Linked DNA regions of Homo sapiens: regions 1, 2, 4, 5, 6 and 7 are each linked to region 3. Evidence: promoter capture Hi-C in human tissues and cell types (Jung and others, 2019). All regions are on one chromosome and are shown on one strand. The core of a region is centred on a gene start or on the middle of the fragment in contact, and the rest is flanking DNA. Distances in the headings are between cores, read along the strand shown.

Region 1 (2,700 bases), core at 82-2,581, 370 kb after region 3:
CCATTCCTGGTTGTTCTCAAAAGCAAAAAGCTGAATTACTGCATGGAAAATGTCAATGTTGAGGTGTTTAGGGCAACTTGAAGTGATTGGCACAGGATTATCCATGGTTTTTTTGGGAGACTAGTGACTTCCATAACTGTGTGCCAAAAACAGCACTGCAAGATGATAACAAAAAATAAATAGAATCAGACAGTCCTATTAGACACGGCTCTCTTCTGTGTAAGTTCACCTACTGAGTGAATGTCAAAATATACAAGAGCACAAATAAACTTTCCAAGGGCTCTCTAGTGGGTTTTGTACTAAAAGCCAAGTCTTCTTTTTCCATCCAATTCCTTTCAAACAATAGAGTGCCTGGGTAAGATGAAAACCAGAGATTTCTAAGAGATACTTAAAAAACTTAAATGTTAGATATCATAATGATGAGTTACTTATAAAGATGTGAAAGACTAATTTAGATTAATCAATGTCTACATTAAGTTCTACAGAGAAATTACATTTATCCCACCACAAATCAAGAAAGTGACTTGAGACTTAGATGACTTGAGACTAACAGAAAGTACGATGTGTTCCAGAGGGAAGCCTTGAACTTCAATGGTGACCATCACAAGCCCCAAAGATTTGGCCAATCTTTGAAAAGAGTGGCAATGCTGAAATAAAGCACTAACATATTAGGAGGTCTAAGATTTGCATTTATTTTCCACATGCTTTTAGAAACCCAGCTAACTCAAATGATCTCTAACTTCAAAAAGTTGTATGAATAAAATGCTATCAGGGAGGTTTAAACCATTCATGAATATCCAGGTGTCTGAAAAGTGCCTGGAGTTATTGAAAACATTGTAATAATAAAGTAATCTGGATGTCTCCTAGGGTGCAGAGCCGGATTTGTTATTCTCCACACTACCAGATGCAAAGCCAAATGTTCCATGTTCATAAAAAATGCATCTAGAGTTGCCTATATTCATAAACAATATTTGCATGCATGAATTTTCCATTTCTTGTGATATTAGAGCTGGGATAAAGTAGCAAAACTACTCTCCTAGACCATAGTTAAAAGAAGATAAACCTTTACAATTAGAATCTGCCATTTCCCTGAGATAAAGGGGGGTTTCGTTTCTGTTGTGTTTTTGTTTTGTTTTGTTTTGTTTTGTTTGTTTTCTTCATTAAGTTGACACAGTGTGGGAAAAGCAAATGTAAGCCCAAAATCTGAGGTCAGCTCAGCTCCCCAAGGGTTAGCATATTGTGCATAAAAAGATAGACTATTTAGCACTGAATATTTTGTATTATAATCAAATTGTTCCAATCTGTTCTAAAATAGTAGAGAAAGTAACTTAATAAAAGTGAAGTCACAGATTGTCACAAAATAAAAGATTTTAAAACTAGCCTAAAAGCATTCTTATATAAATACCAAAAAGGATGGCCTAGACTTGTCATATAAAATTCAGCTAACTCATGTGCTTTGGCCCCCAGCCAAGGGATATTAGCTACCAGAAGAACCACAGTGGACACGGCCTCGCACCAATGAGTTCTTAAGCCTGAATCCAAAGGCAGTGACGACCCCAGAGTACCGTTAGTTTCAATTTAGAGATGGAGTTTTGTTTACCAAAGGAATCAAGATATTTTATATTGTTTATTAATGGTCACATTTAATATAATACCATTAATAATAATATCTTCATTTATTATGAGTTTTTTACTATGTGCTAAGCAATAAGGCAATATGCTAAGCACCTTTATACAGGGATTGTTTAATTTAATTCTAAAAAAAAGATGTGTGAAGTACTGTTATTATTTCCATCTTACCAATGAAGAAACTGATGCTTAGAAAAGATAAGTAATTAGGAGGTAATGTTTGTTATTTTTTGATCTTTCTATATTTATTTATCTTTTTTGATCATTTTAGATTTCTATTTTACAACTAGAAAAAAAAAAAGAGAGAGAGAGAGACACCAGGATCTAAAGCCCTGGGAGTTTTGTCAAAGCTCCAATTTTCAAAATGCTCCCTAGAGACCAATATATACATTACAAAACAAAAACAAAAACAAAAACAAAAAGCACCTTGTCATGGGTAGAAGTTCCCTTCAGGAAGGACTGCTAGAACATTTCATGTCAATCTGGGTGATCTTTTCATTTTGAAGTCCCAATGATGATCACAATTTACTCTTTCTTTTTGCCACCAATATCTCCAATTTCTCATGTCCAAGACATCCTAAATTCTGTCTCCAAGGTATCAAAATATATTTAGCTATATGTCAAGCCCATGCCAATTTCCAAGAGCTCCAAATTCACAGCACACTGTGCCTGGGCTAGGACTTGGTGCCGGCTTGCAGAGGGCCATGGAAATCAGGCACAGTCAGCCAGAGAGCTGCCTCTGTCCCTCACATCCAGTCCTTAATGTCTTATAGGCTCTATCTTATTACAGAAATCAGAGTAATCAGAGATGTTCTTTCTGTTTGATCTGTTTGTCTGCATGCCACACCTTGAAACAAACTTCACTTAGATCCAGTGGAAAAATCCAGTAGATGAGAAGGTGAAGCTTTGGCTTAAGAAAAAGAAAACCTGGGTTTTCTTTCTGAACCTTTGGGTAAGCTGTGAAATGTTCTGGTATGACAGCAAGAATTCAAGGGGAATATTGAAATTATAAGCCAGTTTTTCAGATATTTTATCTACACACCACTATAGGCTTCCCTTGCTACGCTGAAA
Region 2 (2,820 bases), core at 97-2,596, 500 kb before region 3:
ATTCTCAGAGGTCAATATACATCCCTTATGTCCAAAAACCATGAGAAGACTCATTCTTCTCCCCTGTAGCCTACAAGTATTGAAACTATTTATGGAAACCTGAAGTGTGAGAGCAGAAAACTTCACAGTTCCTTCCCTCTCCCCTGAGAATAGTGAAGTTATTTTTAGCACTTCGTCTAGAGTTGTGGACCTAGGGTCAACGCAGAGGAAGACCTTCTATTGTTTTTTCACACTTCTGTCCTCTGATTTCTCCCTCTGCTGCTCAATTGTGTTTTCTCTATTTAGTCTTCATACATTGCTATTTTCTTTTCTTCCTCCCGCACTTTTAAAGCATGTATCTGAATTTGATACAGAAGTGAGGAACATGTGTACTTCTGAAGAGTTTTTTGCCAGGCTGTAGGACACACTGATACTCCATTGAGAGCACTGGCCTAGAAAAAATGTAATCTTTCAATAAATTCTCCGTATACAAACAGTGAAAGCATTCACCAGTGTTGTTTGGAGCTGCAATGCAGTGGGGCTGGGTGTGATGTGGCTTTGGGGTGACTATGGGCTAGTTACTGACTTATCTATGCCTTGCTTTTCTCATCTTTAAAACAAGGATATAGATAGAATTACCTACCTCATCAGGTTATTTCATGTATTAAATACATAAAATGTACTAAAACAATGTCTGGAACACGGTAATTACACAGTAAACGTAGCTGTTGTTTGTATAATGCTACATTTATGAAGCTCTATTCCACAGGAACAGCTGTGACCAAAATTAGAGCAAGGTCTACTATGGTTCTCCTGCCCCAGTCACTTGGCAAGGGCTTCCTCATCCTGGAAGAAGCCCTTCCTCCTGACTGGGGCAGAAGGAGAACCATAGTAACCAGTGTCGTTCACATTGTAAGATGGACTGGAGGGTCAATCTGGGCACGTATTCAGTAGAAGCGTATGGTGTCATTCAAAGAAGCTGAGGGTTGAAAAACTGTGGCCTGTAAAACTGACTCCTACCTTGAAGATTAGGTGGGAGATCTCACTGCATCTTGTTAAGAAATTAAGTAATTAAGAAAATCATTCTTGAAAGCATTTGTTTGTATTAGTGCATTTTTCCCTTAGGTTAAATTTGTACAAAGGGGCTATAGGAGAGATGGAATTCAAACTCATATTTTAAGACTTAGGTTCATATTAAATTTTTTTCCACCAAAAAAAATTGCCAGTTCTTGCTCCTATCAACAGTGTACATGAATGCCTATTTTCTTAGCACCTTGACCACACCAGGCTTCTTGTATTTTCAAACATTTTCTATTTGATAAATAAAAATGTAACTATTAACTTTGTTTGTTTTGAATCACCAGTCAGGTTGAACATCTGTACATTGTCTACTGAATATTTGCATTTCTTTGTAAATTGTCTGTTCATAGCATTTGTTAATTTTATAATTATCTACTCTTTTTTTCTTTCCTGAAAACTATTCTTATTTGGTTGGAAAAGCATTGTATGTTTTCTTCTGATTTTATGGTTTCCTATTTTTTAAATTTATATATTTCATATTTTATTTTTGTGTTATATTTCCCAATTATTTTAAAGATAAGCATAAAAAAGTGTGATCCTCTGCCTTTAATGGAAATACATCTAGATTTAATTCTATATAGATTATTGATATAAAATATACTATTTAATATAGTAAGGAAGTATAATCTAATAAGATAGTTTACTAAAGTAAACTATTAAAATGATTAATTATATTTGTAGATTTCTTTTTTCCCCTTTTTTTGTAGATGTCTTAATATAATGTATCCCTGCACTCATCATAAACTCTACTTAGTCATAACTCATTATTACATGTTCTTTAACATGGTGATGGATTCAATTTTCTATTTCATTTTTGTGAATATTTTCATAAGTGTAATTGGCCTGCAATGATCTAACATCGTACTGAAAGTTCTAATAAATAAGAAATAGGAATTATAAATATTTATGTTTGTTTGGTTTTACATATCTATCTCTGGACATACACACACTAGAAACCATCAGAAAGCTGAAAAAGCAATTTCAGTTCAGCATCTTTTAAAAATAATCCTATGACAAGACTTTTCTTTTAAAGTAGCAACATAGTAATGTTCCATTAAACTTTTTCTCAATCTTAGTTGGTTTTTTAGAATTAAAGTAATGCATTTTAATATGAAATCATCCATTTCATTAATACTTTCTTATTTATTAGGATAGAGTTTTATATATTTATCTTATAATTATCTACTAATTCATATTTTTCTACATCTGTGTTTGTTTTCTGTTACTTATATAACACATTTACCTTATCTGTTTAGTTTTCGTAGTTTTCAAACAATGTGCTTTGCTTTAGGATTTATTAATCAGTTAGTCTCTTATATTCTAAATCATTAATTTTTTACCACTTATACTAATTGCTTTCTTTTTTAATATTTCAATTTATTTTATTAATTCCTTTCTAATATACAAACTGACTCAGTATTTTTTTCTTCGTTATCTAAATACTAAAAAGCTTAATATTAAGATTTTTAAGGGTACTTTCCTACTAGTACATACGTTTCTCTTAGGATTTTAATATGGACTCTTCCCACTACTGTTACTTTCTGATAGTCTTTACATCCAAGTGGTTAGAACATTTTTAATTTTTTGTTATTAACTTTATATATAATTTATTTCCTCATTGAATATTTCCTGTAATTTTTCCTTTGGAGAATTTCTCCTTTGTTGGGAATCTATTTTATTTTTATTTTTAAATTGCCAACTTTACTGAAACCAAGAACATGTTAGTATACACACACATATACATACATGTACGTGTGTTTG
Region 3 (2,870 bases), core at 354-2,853:
GGAACAGACAGCTATGGGAAAGCTGCACAGAGCAGTTGGCAATCAACATGTCCTAGAAGGGTGTGTGGAGTAGCAAAACAAGTGGAACGGATGAAGAACTTCCAAGCTCCTTCGCAGAGTTTTGGGCCCTAGTGTGCAGGGCTGCTCCCTCATGAGATGGAGGACAATGTCGCCCACACCTACTTGGACCTCTCACCAAGGACACTGCCCTCAGAGATAAATCTGTTGGACGGCAGCCAAGAGACCCCAAATTGTCTCAACCTCCAGGACACGGCAAGTTGCAAGTTTCCGAGTTGGGGAGGCAAAGCGGGAAAACATGTTTGGCGATTTCCTCCTGCCACTCACCGACCGGAGAAATGGGGAGGCGGACTCCAGGTCTTTCGTGGACTGCCAAGAGCCCTATAGGGCGTCCAGCTATAAAAAGAGAAGAATCCCATGAAGGACAACAAGCAAACTCATATGTTATCCCTTTAGCCGGATTGTGTGCTGATGATTGTTTCCCTATTTACACTTCGAATCACCCCTGTGGTCTTTTGTGAGTCCCCAAGGCAGCCTCAGCCTTCGCAAACCGTCCAGTGGGGCACGAATCTCGGAGGGGTGCGGGCTGCAGGCGGCAGAGGGAAGCCAAAGAGGGGCGGCTTTTCCAGGCCGTCCACCCCCAGGCGAGCTGGTCCTCACCCTTCGATCGGCTCGAGTCCCTCGGACAGTTGCCCACTCACAGCGTGCAAAGGGGTCGCACTCCCTGTGGGTTCTCCGCCCTCAGAAGCGGCGCTGCGCAGGAAAGTCACCTCCACTACGGGCCGGGAGTAGGGAGGGGAGCACAGTGACAGGGTTGGGGAACAGCCGAGGAGGAGTGGGGGTCGCGGAGATAGGGGTGGGGACGGCCGCGGAGAGGGCGGTGGGAGTGGGGTGGGGCCGGGGAGGGCCGGGGGCGGGGCTGCGGGGCGGGGTGCGCCACAGCGCCCCCTAGCTGCGCGCTCCCCACGGTGCCCTGAGGCCGCTGGTGGCTCTGGCTCGGCAGCCCCTTTGTGTGCGACGCGCTGGTCCCGAGGAGCGCGGCACGGGCACAGCGGAGGCCTCCCAGGGTCCCACCGCTTCTGTCCCAGCCAGGCCGTGCTCTCCTCCTTCTCCTTCTCCGCTCCTCCTTTCTCCGGTCCCCGGCCTCTGGTTCCGAACAGCAGCCATTGGGCCTTGACGAGCCCGCGTCCGGCCGCGCTCCCTACCCCGCCCGGCCCGGGACGCTCGCCCCCCTCCCGCCCTGTCCCTTCTGGATCCCCGCCCCACCCCCCCACCCCCCACATCCCGGGCCTCCAAGGTGGAGAAAATAAACTACAAGCAGAACAACTCAGAATCTCCAATAAAACGCCCAGTACCTAGAGCCCGAGCGCGTGTGCCGGGCTGCGAGGGGCGCGGGAGGCGGGGATGGGGGGGCGGGCGGGGGGGACAATGAGCGCATGAAGTTACCTGCCCGGCGGCGGCGGCAGCGGCGGCGGCGGGACCAAGAGGCGGCGGTGGAGCAGGCTGCGCGCTCGGCGCCGACGGGTGCGCGCCGCGGCTTGGGGGAGAGTTGAGCGCTTTTCCCCCCTCTTTTTTTTTTTTTTCCTCTTCTTCTTAAACAAACCACAAACGGATGTGAGGGAAGGAAGGTGTTTCTTTTACTCCTGAGCCCAGACACCTCACTCTGTTCCGTCTAAGCTTGTTTTGCTGAACACTTTTTTTTAAAAAAGGAAAAAGAAAAGGAGTTGCTTGATGTGAGAGTGAAATGGACGTAAGATTTTATCCACCTCCAGCCCAGCCCGCCGCTGCGCCCGACGCTCCCTGTCTGGGACCTTCTCCCTGCCTGGACCCCTACTATTGCAACAAGGTGAACGCTCTGCTTTTGTTTCCACCGTGTTCTTGCTGCTTGATCCTGGGAGGGGAGCGGCGGTGGCCGGGCCGCGGCGGGGCCGGCTTGGCGGAGGCCGGTCCCGGGCGCGCTCGGCTCGCAGCCCGCTGCAGCCTGCGTGCGCTTGGGTAGTAAATATTGTGGAGTAGCTCCGGGGGCTTGCCAAACACCGCGATTGTGCGGAAAGTGACACGATTTGCTCGGATTCTTTCCTTCCTGCTGTTCGCGGCTAAGGATCCCTGCCTAGGTTTGCCGGGGGGCGTTTAAAAAAATAATAAGAGAAAACCGTGGAATACTTTGGGGGTGTGTCTGGGGTCCAGGAACGGAGGCAGAGTAAGAGAATTCAGTTTATTTCCCAGTTCCCCCTTCTCTCTCCCTCCCTCCCCGGGCAGTGGGGGCTCGTGGCACCACTTCCCTTCTCCGGATTAGTTGCCAGGGGAGCAGCCGGGAGTCGGGGTGCAGGGACCTGGGAGGCGCCCCTGCCCCCCACAGGGAAAACTGCCCCACAACTCTTTTGTTTTCTCAAACCGGTTCCGGCAGCCGAGCCCGGGTTCGGACACAGGTCCGCGGGCCAGAGCACAGCGGGGTAGCTGGGTCAAGGTTTGGGGAACAGTTCCTGTTTAAGGGGTGCGCGCGGAAATTGCAAGTTTGTTGGGAGCCGGGCGAGCACGTCGCGTTCAAGTCCAAAGCTCCCGCACTCGCGGAGCAGGGTCCGCGGCTGAGCTGTACCCACGGCCCGCTGACCTCGGGTGCCAGGGCCGCGGGGGCCCGGGGAGAGGCGGATCATGCCGGTGACCCGGAGGTGGGGCGCTGGCCTGGGCTGCTGCGGAGTTCGGCTGGGTCCACCTATAGGACAGTCAGGGGGTACGAGGGAGGGGGTTACTCTCCCGGCTTCTCGAACTCTCTCATCCCAGAGAGGGAGGACACGCAGGGACCGGTCCCCCAGAGTGGTCGCAGGGGCACGACTGCCCACGCCTAGGGCTAG
Region 4 (2,700 bases), core at 51-2,550, 410 kb after region 3:
ATAAATGCTGGGTAATATAATATGATTGATTTGCTTCCTGATTTTTGTTTTCTGTATGCCCATTAGCATTTCTGCCTGTTTGAAAAGTTCGCATTCAGTATACTTACAGAGAAATAGCTCAAATAACTTGAAATCCATACAAAATATATTATTTCATTTGTGACACTAACCAATATCCTTACACATAGGATGACTGTCTTAGTCCATTCAGGCCCCTATAAAAAAATACTGTAAACTGGGCAACTTATAAATAGCAAAAGTTTATTTCTCACAGTTCTGGAAGACAGAAAGTCCAAGACCAACGTGCCAGCAGATTCAGTGTCTAGTGAGGGCCAATTTTCTCGTTCATAGGCGGCATATTTTCGCTGTATCTTTACATGGTAGAAGGAGCAAGGCAGCTTTCTGGGGCCTCTTTTATAAAGGCAGTAATCTCATTCATTAGGACTCTGCCCTCATGGCCTAATTACCTCCCAAAGGCCCCACCTTCTAATATCATCACAGTGATGGTTAGGTTTCAGCCTATGAATTTGGGGGAGGACACAAACAGATCAATAATCTTATAAATGGAAGCACTTGAAGTAAAAGGAAGTAATGTTATATGATTTAAAAAAAACACTTTCAGTTTCAGATTCTAAATATGTTCCTGTGATTGGAATAAGTAGTAAAAAAAATTTGATGACATGACTGGTAATTTCAAGAAACCTAGACATATTCCAGTATAATATATCTGTATATGAATGAAATGATGTTTAAGAGATTGCCCTGTTCTGTAATTACCCTGTCCATTTACCAGAGTATACGTTTCCCAGCCTGTTAATCTTGGAAGGCATGCTCAAAGATAAGGATTTTATGACTCTTTTACTGGAATTTTTTTTTTTTTTTTGAGGTGGAGTCTCACTCTGTCACCCAGGCTGGAGCGCAGTGGCATGATCTCGGCTCACTGCAACCTCTGTCTCCTCGGTTCAAAGGATTGTCCTGCCTCAGCCTCCTGAGTAGCTGGGATTATAGGCATGCACCACCATGCCCAAGTAATTTTTGTATTTTTAGTAGAGACGAGGTTTCACCACGTTGCCCAGGCTGGTCCTGAACCCCTGACCTCAGGTGATCCGCCTCCATCGGCCTCCCAAAGTGCTGGGATTATAGGGTTGAGCCACCACACCCAGCCTGGAATTATTTCTTTATGAAAGGGTAAATGCTTGTTTAAAATTTCTTAAAGAATTTTTCAAGATACAGTGCTGCAGCCACATTCTTTGGGATTTTGATTGTGTTATAGGAGGTACAAAATAATTTTTAAATATTTTTCACAGTATTGAGTAGATTAGTTCACTAGAGACAATATAGATATGCAGAAAGAGAAAAATTAAAATATCCAAAATATCACCAACAAAGATAACCTTTGTTTTTGCTGTTCGTTTTTGTTGTACTTTAGGGGGCTTTCTTTTGAGATAGAATCTCACTCTGTCCCATAGGTTGTGTAGTGGCACAACCATAGCTCACTGCAGCCACAACCTCCCAGGTTCGAGCAAGCCTCCCACCTCAGCCTCCTAAGTAGCGTGGACAACAGACATGTGCCACCACGCTTGACTAATGTTCTTTTATTAATTTCAATTTTTTATTTTTAGTAGAAACAGGATCTCACTATGTTCCCCAGGCTGGTCTTGACCTCCTGGGCCCAAGTGATCCCCCCACCACTGTTTCCCAAAGTGCTGGGATTACAGGCATGAGCCACCGCATCTGACCAATAACCACTTTTAACAACTATCCTTACATATATTTTTCTATATACAGGTGGTCCTCAACTTACAATCGTTCCATTTATAATTTTTAAACTTTACAATGGTGTGAAAGAGATATGCATTCACTAGACACTGTACTTTGAGTACCCATACAACCATTCTGTTTTCACTTTGAGCACAGTATTCAAAAAATTTCATGAGATATTCAATACTTTATTATAAAATAGGCTTTGTGTTAGATTATTTTGCCCAACTGTAGGCTAATGTAAGTATTCTGAGCACATTTAAGGTAGGACAGGCTAAGCCATGATATTTGGTAGATTAGGTGTATTAAATACATTTCTGACTTATGATATTTTCAATTTATGATAGGTTTATCAGGACATAACCCCATTATAAGTTGAGGAGCATCTGTATAGAAATATCTTTTTGCAAAAATAGAAACATACATATGGTTTTATAGATCATTTTGCTTAACAAGATATTATAAACATAATCCAGTATAAATAAATATTCATCTACAAAAATTATTTTTACTAACGAAACAGTAATTCATACTGTGTCATAATGGACTACTTCTGATTTCAGCTCCTACGTATCAAAAGCAGGGACGTCATGACTCTCATCCTTTGCTTAACAGCTTTATTGAGATATAGTTCACGTACTTTGTAATTAATCTATTTAAAGTGTACACTTGAATGATTTTTAGTATATTTACAGATATATGCAAGCATCACCACAGTCAATTTTAGAATATTTTTATCACACCAAAAACAAATCCCATACACTTCAGCTATTATCCCCCAGGCGTGTATCCTCCCTCTCCCCACCAGCCCTAGGCAATCATGAATCTGCTTTCTGTCCTATAGATTTCCCTTTTCTAGACATTTCTTATGAATGGAATCACATAATATATGGTCTTTTGTGGAGGGCTTCTTTCAATTTTCAGGGTTCATGTATGTTG
Region 5 (2,899 bases), core at 138-2,637, 390 kb after region 3:
TCCTCCCACCACAGCCTCCTTAGTAGCTGGGACTACAGATGCATGTCACCATGTCTAGATAATTTTTTAAAAAATTTTTATAGAGATGGGGTATTGTCATGTTGCTCAGGCTGGTCTCAAACTCCTGGTTTCAAGCAATCCTCCCGCCTCTGCCTCCCAAAGTGCTAGGATTACAAGTGGGAGCTACCACGCCTGGCCACATGTCTTTTCTTGTAATGGTACCAATCTCCTCATGGGGATTCCAGCTTCATGACCTTATTACCTCTCAAATGCCCCATCTTCAAATATCATCACATTGGGAATTAGGGTTTCAACATATGAATTTTGAAGGGACACAAACATTTAGTCCATAGCAAGCCTCTTAATAGAGTCTGAAAAATGTTTTAATTTTTAGCACTTTAGAAGGAAGTTGGGGTTTTGATGGATATCCGTACAGATTCTGCCACTTATGCCTGTAAAATCCCTGTAATATCATGGACACTCAAGAATATTTCTTGGACTCAATTTAACATAATTAAAAACATAAATGTGATCAGGCGACAGATAGTGATTGGATATCTACTATGTGCAATCAACATCCTACCCATGTGAGAAACGCTTGTCCTATCTCAAACCTTCCATATTGCTCTGTGTTTCTAAGCTTTTGCACAAGCTCTTCCCTGGAGTGGCCTGCTCCCATTCTTCCACCCATCAACTCCCAAAGGTGAATATCTTTGGCCCTTTAAAGCACGAACTAATCTTCACTACTTTGGGAAACCTTCTGTATCCGTTAGAATCTTTTAAGTCCATGTAACAGAATAATGGAAAGTGGCTTAAACAAGAAAGGTGTGTTATCTTATATAACAATAAACAGCAAAACATACAGAGACAGAAAAGAAGGGCCCAGGTTTGTACTTCAGGAATGCTATGATATCAACAAGGACCCAACAGCTTGCCCTATTTCTGCTCTCCCATCCTCACTCTGTTAGGGTTCATCCTCAGGCATGTCCTTTCATGATCACAGCGTGGATACTATACATGTTTTCACACAACTGTAGTCAAAGCCAGGAAAGGAGGTGTCTCCTTGCTTGTCTCCTTCTATCCAGAGACAAACCTTTACTGAGTTCTGTCTAAAGAATGACTTTTAAGTCTCATTTCCCAGGACAGTGTTACAGGCCCACACCTAAACCAATCAGTGACCAGGAGAAGGGAAGCACTTCGATTGGCTTAGACTTGTGAACATTCATTTTCTGGCCCTGGAAGAGAAGAGTGAATACCAACACTGAATCAAGGTGGCTCTTCCAGCAAGAAAGAAGGAGAGAGGAGTAGGTAACCCCTGGCATCAGCTACACCCCCTCAATCACAACCATCACATCCTCCTGAGCTGTGGGAGGTGGCCCACCTCAGTGCTCTCATAGCAACCCATAATTAGGGTAATTGCAGCACTTAGCATATTGTCAACTCACGTCTCAGCTCTGCCTCTCTGTGAGCTCCTCTAGGGCAGAGGCTGTTTCTTATTCATCTACCTCTCTAGGCTTAACTCAGTGTTCACCACATTGAATGCACCCAGCAAATATTGGTTGAACTCGAATAAGTTGAATTACATGGATCATGATTCTATCCATGCAAATAGGTATTAGCTATTTAGAAGAGTTATTATTGTACTATCTAACTAGATCACATTTAGAAATGTTATGTGAAAATATTTTTGGACAATTAAATGTGGTTATTTCAAAGTGCCAGGGAAGAAACTGGTAGGGTGGACAGGCACGAGCAAACTTACAACGGTCTTGCTATCCTGATCCTGTTAAGTAGCTCATCTTTGTAGTTAACTATTTCATTTTCACTCCTTTCATTTATATTGTCTCTTCTTAAATGCAAACGTAAGTGAGGTAACTTGACTGAATGAAAACAATTTTGAATTAAGTTCAGAAACATGTAAACAGTCACACTAAGTTTGTGTTCCATTATGTGGGGCAACATGAAAGGTAGAACAGGGCTGGGCATGGTGGCGCATGCCTGTAATTCCAACACTTTGGGAGGCAGAGGCGGATGGATCACAAGGTCAGGAGTTTGAGACCAGTCTGACCAACATGGTGAAACCCTGTCTGTACTAAAAATACAAAAAGTAGTCAGGCATGGTGGCATGTGCCTGCAATCCCAGCTACTCAGGAGGCTGAGGCAGAAGAATCACTTGAACCCAGGAGGCAGAGGTTGCAGTGAGCCAAGATCATGCCATTGCACTCCAGCCTGGGTGACAGAGAAAAAGTCCATCTCAAAAAAAAGAGAAGAAAAAAAAGGTAGAACAAACATTTTATTGACATTTATTCAACACATTTTAGACTTACACTTACTGCTAAAATAGAGAAACCAGGACTGGCCTTATCCTCCACCTGAAACAGCCAAAGACAACAACAAAATGATATAATGACTCACAAGACACTAGGTGGACAACAAAGGCCACAGGTATTCAGATGGGTACAGATTGGGGCACACAAATAAGAAAACCACCAGAGGCTGGAGGAAAAAACACACAAAACATTAGAGGTAATGGTGCCCAGGGTTTCCACCAGCCAGAATGGAAAGCCTCATGATTCAAGGAACATCGGGTAGAGTACCCAGAAGAGTCTTGCCTCGGCATTAGGGAAAAATGTCCCTAAGCTTAGTATAGCTCCAGTCTTGCTCAATAACATTGAGATCAAGACCTGAAAGGATCAAACTGTTTCCAAGTAACTTAACTGTGTCCTAGAAAAAAAAAATCAAGAACACTGATGGGAGTAGAAAAAAAACCTAGCACCCCAAAAGATAAGTTTCATAATGTTATACATCTAATAAAAAAAGTACCAGGCACACAAAGTAGCAGGAAAATACGACTTTCAGTAAGAAGATAAATCAACCAATTGAAATTGACCGAGGATGG
Region 6 (2,700 bases), core at 125-2,624, 410 kb before region 3:
AATTGGGTTATAAAAAATATCTCATCATTAATGACTACTTAGTTTTATGAAGAAATATCATGTTTATTCTGCACAAATGAAATGAAAGTTCAAGATAACTTTAGTGCTGAGACTGATACAAGACTTCACAATCATTCCTAGCTGTCATTTTAAAATTATTATAGAATACATTAACGTTGTTATTAAAAGTATCTCATTGTTCTTATGTTCTTGCCTTATAATAAGTATATGTTACAAAGCTTAAAATATTTCATACTACTAAAATATTGCTTTTTTATTCATTTTGTATGTAGGGTTTTATTTTTTTTTTAACGAATTGCCTATTAAAAAATGCTTGAAAACTATAGCTACAGACAAATGACTTCGAGTAGGAAAATCACACTAACAGAACGGTAGTTTAGAAAATATAATGCTGGTGGCAGTGAAGCAAATGCCTGGAAGAGGAGGGAAAAATATAAAATATAATACAAGTCATGTAATGTCCTATTATTTTGGTTATTAGACCTATAGGAGGTGAGAATATGCCACCCCAAAATATGCTTCTTTGATATAAGGATTATTTTGAGCTGATAGTTTGGAGAAACTGCAGAAACCAGAGAAGCTCTGAAAACAAGGGTAGAAGTTATCCTTTTGTAAGAGAAATGTATAACTATAAAGGAAATCTTCATTTGTAAGGGAGTCTCTCTCTCAGGACCAGGAAGGGAAGGATGGCTGCAAATCACTGGAGACTTGTCAATAGGGAAGGCACCAATTTCAGTGTTTTTCCTGGTGACCTCTCATTTCTGAGCTTCCCTGGGCCCTTCATTCTTTATTTCCATGGACAGTGGTATTTAAGCCTGAATTCAAAGCTCTCTCATTTCTCTAGGTATTTCTTATGTAAACATGAGATATACATGTTATTAAACTTGTTTGTTTTTCTCTTATTAATCTGTCTTTTGTTAGTGGGGTCCATTTGAATGAAGAACTATGAAAGGTAGAGAGAAAATGATTTTTTCCTTCCCTACAGAACTACAAATTTTTGAGAACTAACTGTGTGCCTGAGATTGCACTAGGTACTTACGTACATTATCCATCTTCTCTCATTCTCACAACCAGCCAACAGGTATTACTGCCTTCATTTTACTGGCCCAGAGTGCTGACGTGACTTGTTGTAAGAGCAGCCGGAATCTGAGCCCTGGGACTAGCCAGTTCCAACATCCATGCTGTCTACTGGGTACAGCATGGAACTGTTTCCCAGCTAGTGCATAACGCTTTACCGTCTGACTTAAAAAAATAGACTGTAATTCTTTCAGGGAAAAAATGTTATTTACTGCATTTGAAGCAACCATAACACGTAATACAAGGAAGCAGTGAGTAATTAACATATATTTGTAGATAGATAAAAGAATAAACAAATATAATCAAATCCTCTGAAATTCCCAAGGTGTTTTGGTTTTTTAGAAGGATACCATGTGATAAACATTAACTGGTTAATGCACATGCTTTCCTAATATATTTTTTTCTCTTTGCTGATTCTGTTTGACATCAGTCAAATTATATTGCAAAATCCACAATAAAGATTTCAGAAGAATTGTCCCTTTCCATTATTCATATAGTGTGCATTACTTTCTTAGTAAACTGGTTTCAAAAACAAGCTTTGGATTTAAATGTTAAAATGTTATCTTAGTTTTTTTTTTTTTTTTTTTTGAAGGTGGTAAAAATGGAAACAGGCACAGCATTTGAATGCAGGAAGCCTTTAAGCCATCTTTCTCTCCTTTGCCCTTGCCTCCCCCTCTCTTCCTGTGAAACATCAGAATAAACGTCCCTTGTTTGAACTAAATCACCCACTGTGCGTAACTGATATCATAAGCACAGACACATATACCTCATAACCAGAGCTCTCACACCTTATCAGAACATTCTCATCTGAAAGGTGAGGATGTTGGAAACCAGGCTTTTTTAATGTGGTGATATCAATTAGGAGCAAGGAGAAAAAATTGCACGGGGCTAGAGGGGAGTGGTTGCTCAGGTTTGTTTAGGCTTCACTTAGCTTTAGTCTATTAAGGTCTAATTCCTTATGTGTTTTACCTGATGGTGAGCAAAGTGGCTTTACATTGTATTTCTTTGTAACACTGACATTTCCTTCGCACCATTTAAAATTAAACCTTTTATTAGTCCATGGATGGCTGAGGCAGGAAACAATAGCAGCTCAGGGAGAATAATTATTTCTGTTTCATTGTGTAGGATGTTTGAGCTCTTGATTAGTTGCATTCTACAGTACTTAACAGCTAACCAATCTTACCATGATTAACAACACGAGAAGTTTGTTGTTGTTGTTGTTGTTGTTTTATACTAGAAATGCTGTTTTATATGTTTCTTGGTGACTTAAATCTTGTTTTAAAAAATACCTCTCATTTTCTGGGGTGTGTTTGAAAACGACCACACCATCAATGGCATGCAGTAGTGAGCAGTGGGCAAGGCAAGAGAGGATCACTATAAAATGGATGTAAAAAGCTGTGGGTTGTCCGGCATTAAGCATTCCCAGTGTGTTTCTAATGAGCTTATGATGGCCTCGCCGGATTACTGTTTCTACTCCAGCCCAGTAAATTACAGTATGCCCAAATTAAATCAATGGGACTCCATAGAAGCCGATCTTCAGCAGGCTCCACATTTGTAAGAATTAAAAAATCACACTTAATCATATTTAATCACGTCCATTGT
Region 7 (2,828 bases), core at 102-2,601, 290 kb after region 3:
ACCAAAGTGCATTCTATTTGCCTTTGAAAGCAAAACGCATCCTAGTTAGCTGAATGGGAGTCACTTGGAGTAGCATATTAATAAAAGCATGATAGAAATGCTTAGGGTATACAAAAATGCATTACCATAAAAGACGTATTGACTAAATGTTTGCTTCAAAGTCCTGAATAGGATTTCTATCTGTATGGGAGAAAAACCCTCTTGAAAGTTTTGAGGTATTAAAAGCAAATGTAAACATTGTCAGTTTAAGGTCATTAATTATAAATTATGTCTTTGAGAAGAGCTTTAAGGAAAAACTATAAACAGAAATCTGTCTCTCAAAAAAAAATAAATCAATGAAAAGCAGGAGAGCTGTTTCATGGCTGCACCAAGGCTTACGATATACACAGATCACACTGTTCAAAGGCACTTACTCGACTTTAGCATTTATTTGTTTTCACGTGTGAATTTCCAAAAAAGAATTTGAATTTGACTTCCAATAATTAACTCAGTAAATTTAGAATACTCCTGTGCTTGAACCAAAGGATTTCTTGGCTTTGTGCTTAAAAAAAAAAAACTCTGAAATATAGTTTTTAAAGTTTCTTTAGTTTCATACTTAGGATGATGGCACATTGATTATATGATAATATTGTACTAATTCTTAATTCCTTATTTTACTTGGCTTTTATTAGACCAAAATGCCAAATACAGAAGTCAAGGCTGAAGCCCCCCACTTTAGGAGAAAAATTAGCACATTCATTTCATACAGTCCTGTTATAATTCTGTTGACAAGGTTAGTCATTTGTTTACCTTAAGCAAAATGTTCTGCTTTAATTAAAATATTCATGAATAAACAATATTTCTCACATCTCGAATTTCATAGCTGGCGTTGGGCTCAGCAAACCACAGTCAGCATTTGAAACCATAAATTGACCCCTGCTGCCAAATGGCAGATATTTGGTCTTTAGACATAATTTATATTTAACTACTCTGACTAATTCTGAAGCCACTTTTCAATACTGATCTGTGTGTCTGTTTTTGAGTTCAGCATTACAAAATATTAGCCAAGCCTTATGCCCTGCTGTAAAATCCAAAATGTGGGAAATTTAAAATAGCTGTATCAATGAAAATACATTTCCATTTACACAGTGAAGGATGAAAAATATTTTGATCTTTCAGGCTGATTTCAAAAGATTGCCAAAAAATATACTCTAAAGCCTTGAAAGAATCAACTTAATGGTAGCAGAGAGCCATGTGTGTTCACTTTGCTAATCTTTCATTTTCAACTCTAATGACTGCTCACTGTTTAACTTAGCAATGTGACCTTTAGCATACAAGCAAGTCATTTTTCAGTACTTTTGCTCAATTTAGGATGATTTTGCTTTTATTTTCAAGATGATTCCCTCTCAGAAATGGAAAGCTTCTGTAAACTGAAATTCATTTCAGAACACTTTTACCTTTTCAAAATGAGGTGTCCACAGACCCATGACATCCAGTGTTTTTCTTGGAAAGGACGTGACCAGAGTGGACTGCAGGGCAGGGCATGCATGCAATCCACAGCCACTTGGGCTTCCCATTCCTCTCCCAAACGTGTCCTTAATCACCATCACTGTTTCCTGAGTCTTTGAAAATAGAACTTCAAGGCTCCAAATCTTAACTCAGTGATGAACCTGCACTCTCCCTTCTGTTTCCTTTGATTTGCTTATTGAACATGATTTGTCATCTCTAAATTCTGTCTTTGTTTTTGTATTTAGCGTGGAACATATATATCAGGATGTGAATGTGCTGTGGAGTTATCTGCCCATTATATAAATATGAATGCCTTGTTTACTCACATGTGGTTTCCCTGGGAACCTTCATCAATAGTATCTTTGTAAGCCAACTACCTCTACACTCATATCTACCCAGATAAAACCTTTCATATGTTTTATGTAAAAGTGTAAAGTTTTACTGTTGCTAACTTTTTTTTTCTTTTCTAGTCTATTGCCATACTTCTTAAAAATCTGTTTCAGTAAGAAAACACAATCTTTGGGGAGATATATATTATTATATTATATAACTATAAGTGTGTTTGTGTGTGCAGTTATCATTCTATATTGTACTTCTCTGAAAACAAAAGCAAATGCACTTTCTAATTTAAGACTCTTTGCTGTTGTTGCAGGTCTATAAAAAGAAAACCGAGGCTGCGAAGAAGGAGTACCTGAAGCAACTCGCAGCATACAGAGCCAGCCTTGTATCCAAGGTAACGTGCAGTTGTGTGATATTGTGAAGGATTGTGGCCATCTCGGCGCAGACTTTGATAGTCACTTAAAGGCATAAAAGATCACTTTAACGATTCTGCACAATCTTCTTTGTTGGAAAAAAAAGTAAATTACAAACAAAGCTATACGATATGGAAATATTCGTTCAGCTCCAAAAGACCAGAGCAGCATCCCCTGGGCCATTTCTAAAATATTGTCCACCTGTGGATGATTGGTTTTGTGGATTAGTCACAGTACATTCTTCAACCTGAGCCAACTTTCTACTTCTCCATATCCCTTTCTTAAATTGCCTCCAGGCCCCCATGCCATTGGCCTTTACTGAGGACATGCCAACTCTAAGTTCTAGACTCATTACAGCAGCATTAGGAGGTAAGCAGGACCCAAAAATGTTTATAAATCACATCATTTTGTTTGAAAATAAAAACACCGCTTAAAAATATTTAGTGATCTAGAATATCTTAAACACTAGTTCTTCCTGTTATAAATACCCAAGAGTTGACTGATTGGTTTCATGTTATTAAAGATACAATTCCCGTTATGGAATTCTTCAGAAGGTAACTTCAGAGAAATGGACTGAGTCTATAAGCA

The links. Contacts are between HindIII fragments. The study calls those that stand out against the background at their distance.
Region 1: a fragment that was not itself captured here is called in contact with the fragment with the promoter of TOX in region 3 in 2 of the 25 tissues and cell types used here (IMR-90 fibroblasts and lymphoblastoid cells).
Region 2: a contact is called between a fragment that was not itself captured here and the fragment with the promoter of TOX in region 3, in 2 of the 25 tissues and cell types used here (H1 embryonic stem cells and heart right ventricle).
Region 4: a contact is called between a fragment that was not itself captured here and the fragment with the promoter of TOX in region 3, in 1 of the 25 tissues and cell types used here (stomach).
Region 5: a contact is called between a fragment that was not itself captured here and the fragment with the promoter of TOX in region 3, in 3 of the 25 tissues and cell types used here (lymphoblastoid cells, mesenchymal stem cells and thymus).
Region 6: a contact is called between a fragment that was not itself captured here and the fragment with the promoter of TOX in region 3, in 1 of the 25 tissues and cell types used here (mesendoderm cells).
Region 7: a fragment that was not itself captured here is called in contact with the fragment with the promoter of TOX in region 3 in 1 of the 25 tissues and cell types used here (dorsolateral prefrontal cortex).

The regions. Positions count from the first base shown.
Region 1 is chr8:58,752,475-58,755,174 of GRCh38, reverse strand. No RefSeq gene overlaps it. Among named protein-coding and RNA genes, the nearest start is that of NSMAF, 94 kb to the right of the region's middle. The HindIII fragment of the contact is 8,904 bases long and covers 1-2,700 here.
Region 2 is chr8:59,613,994-59,616,813 of GRCh38, reverse strand. The region is part of intron 2 of LOC105375859 (a long non-coding RNA gene); the gene reads right to left. Among named protein-coding and RNA genes, the nearest start is that of TOX-DT, 500 kb to the right of the region's middle. The HindIII fragment of the contact is 4,702 bases long and covers 1-2,820 here.
Region 3 is chr8:59,117,880-59,120,749 of GRCh38, reverse strand. TOX (thymocyte selection associated high mobility group box) reads left to right here and starts at 1,603. Exons shown (of 9, transcript NM_014729.3): 1 at 1,603-1,864. The coding sequence starts at 1,763. TOX-DT (TOX divergent transcript) reads right to left here and starts at 1,540. Exons shown (of 3, transcript NR_149031.1): 1 at 1,465-1,540; 2 at 679-793; 3 at 1-414. RefSeq lists a silencer at 859-1,078. The HindIII fragment of the contact is 9,409 bases long and covers 1-2,870 here.
Region 4 is chr8:58,712,041-58,714,740 of GRCh38, reverse strand. No RefSeq gene overlaps it. Among named protein-coding and RNA genes, the nearest start is that of NSMAF, 54 kb to the right of the region's middle. The HindIII fragment of the contact is 8,977 bases long and covers 1-2,700 here.
Region 5 is chr8:58,730,905-58,733,803 of GRCh38, reverse strand. No RefSeq gene overlaps it. Among named protein-coding and RNA genes, the nearest start is that of NSMAF, 73 kb to the right of the region's middle. The HindIII fragment of the contact is 5,232 bases long and covers 1-2,899 here.
Region 6 is chr8:59,531,235-59,533,934 of GRCh38, reverse strand. No RefSeq gene overlaps it. Among named protein-coding and RNA genes, the nearest start is that of TOX-DT, 410 kb to the right of the region's middle. The HindIII fragment of the contact is 3,363 bases long and covers 1-2,700 here.
Region 7 is chr8:58,826,215-58,829,042 of GRCh38, reverse strand. TOX (thymocyte selection associated high mobility group box) reads left to right here. Exons shown (of 9, transcript NM_014729.3): 6 at 2,141-2,221. Among named protein-coding and RNA genes, the nearest start is that of NSMAF, 170 kb to the right of the region's middle. The HindIII fragment of the contact is 6,763 bases long and covers 1-2,828 here.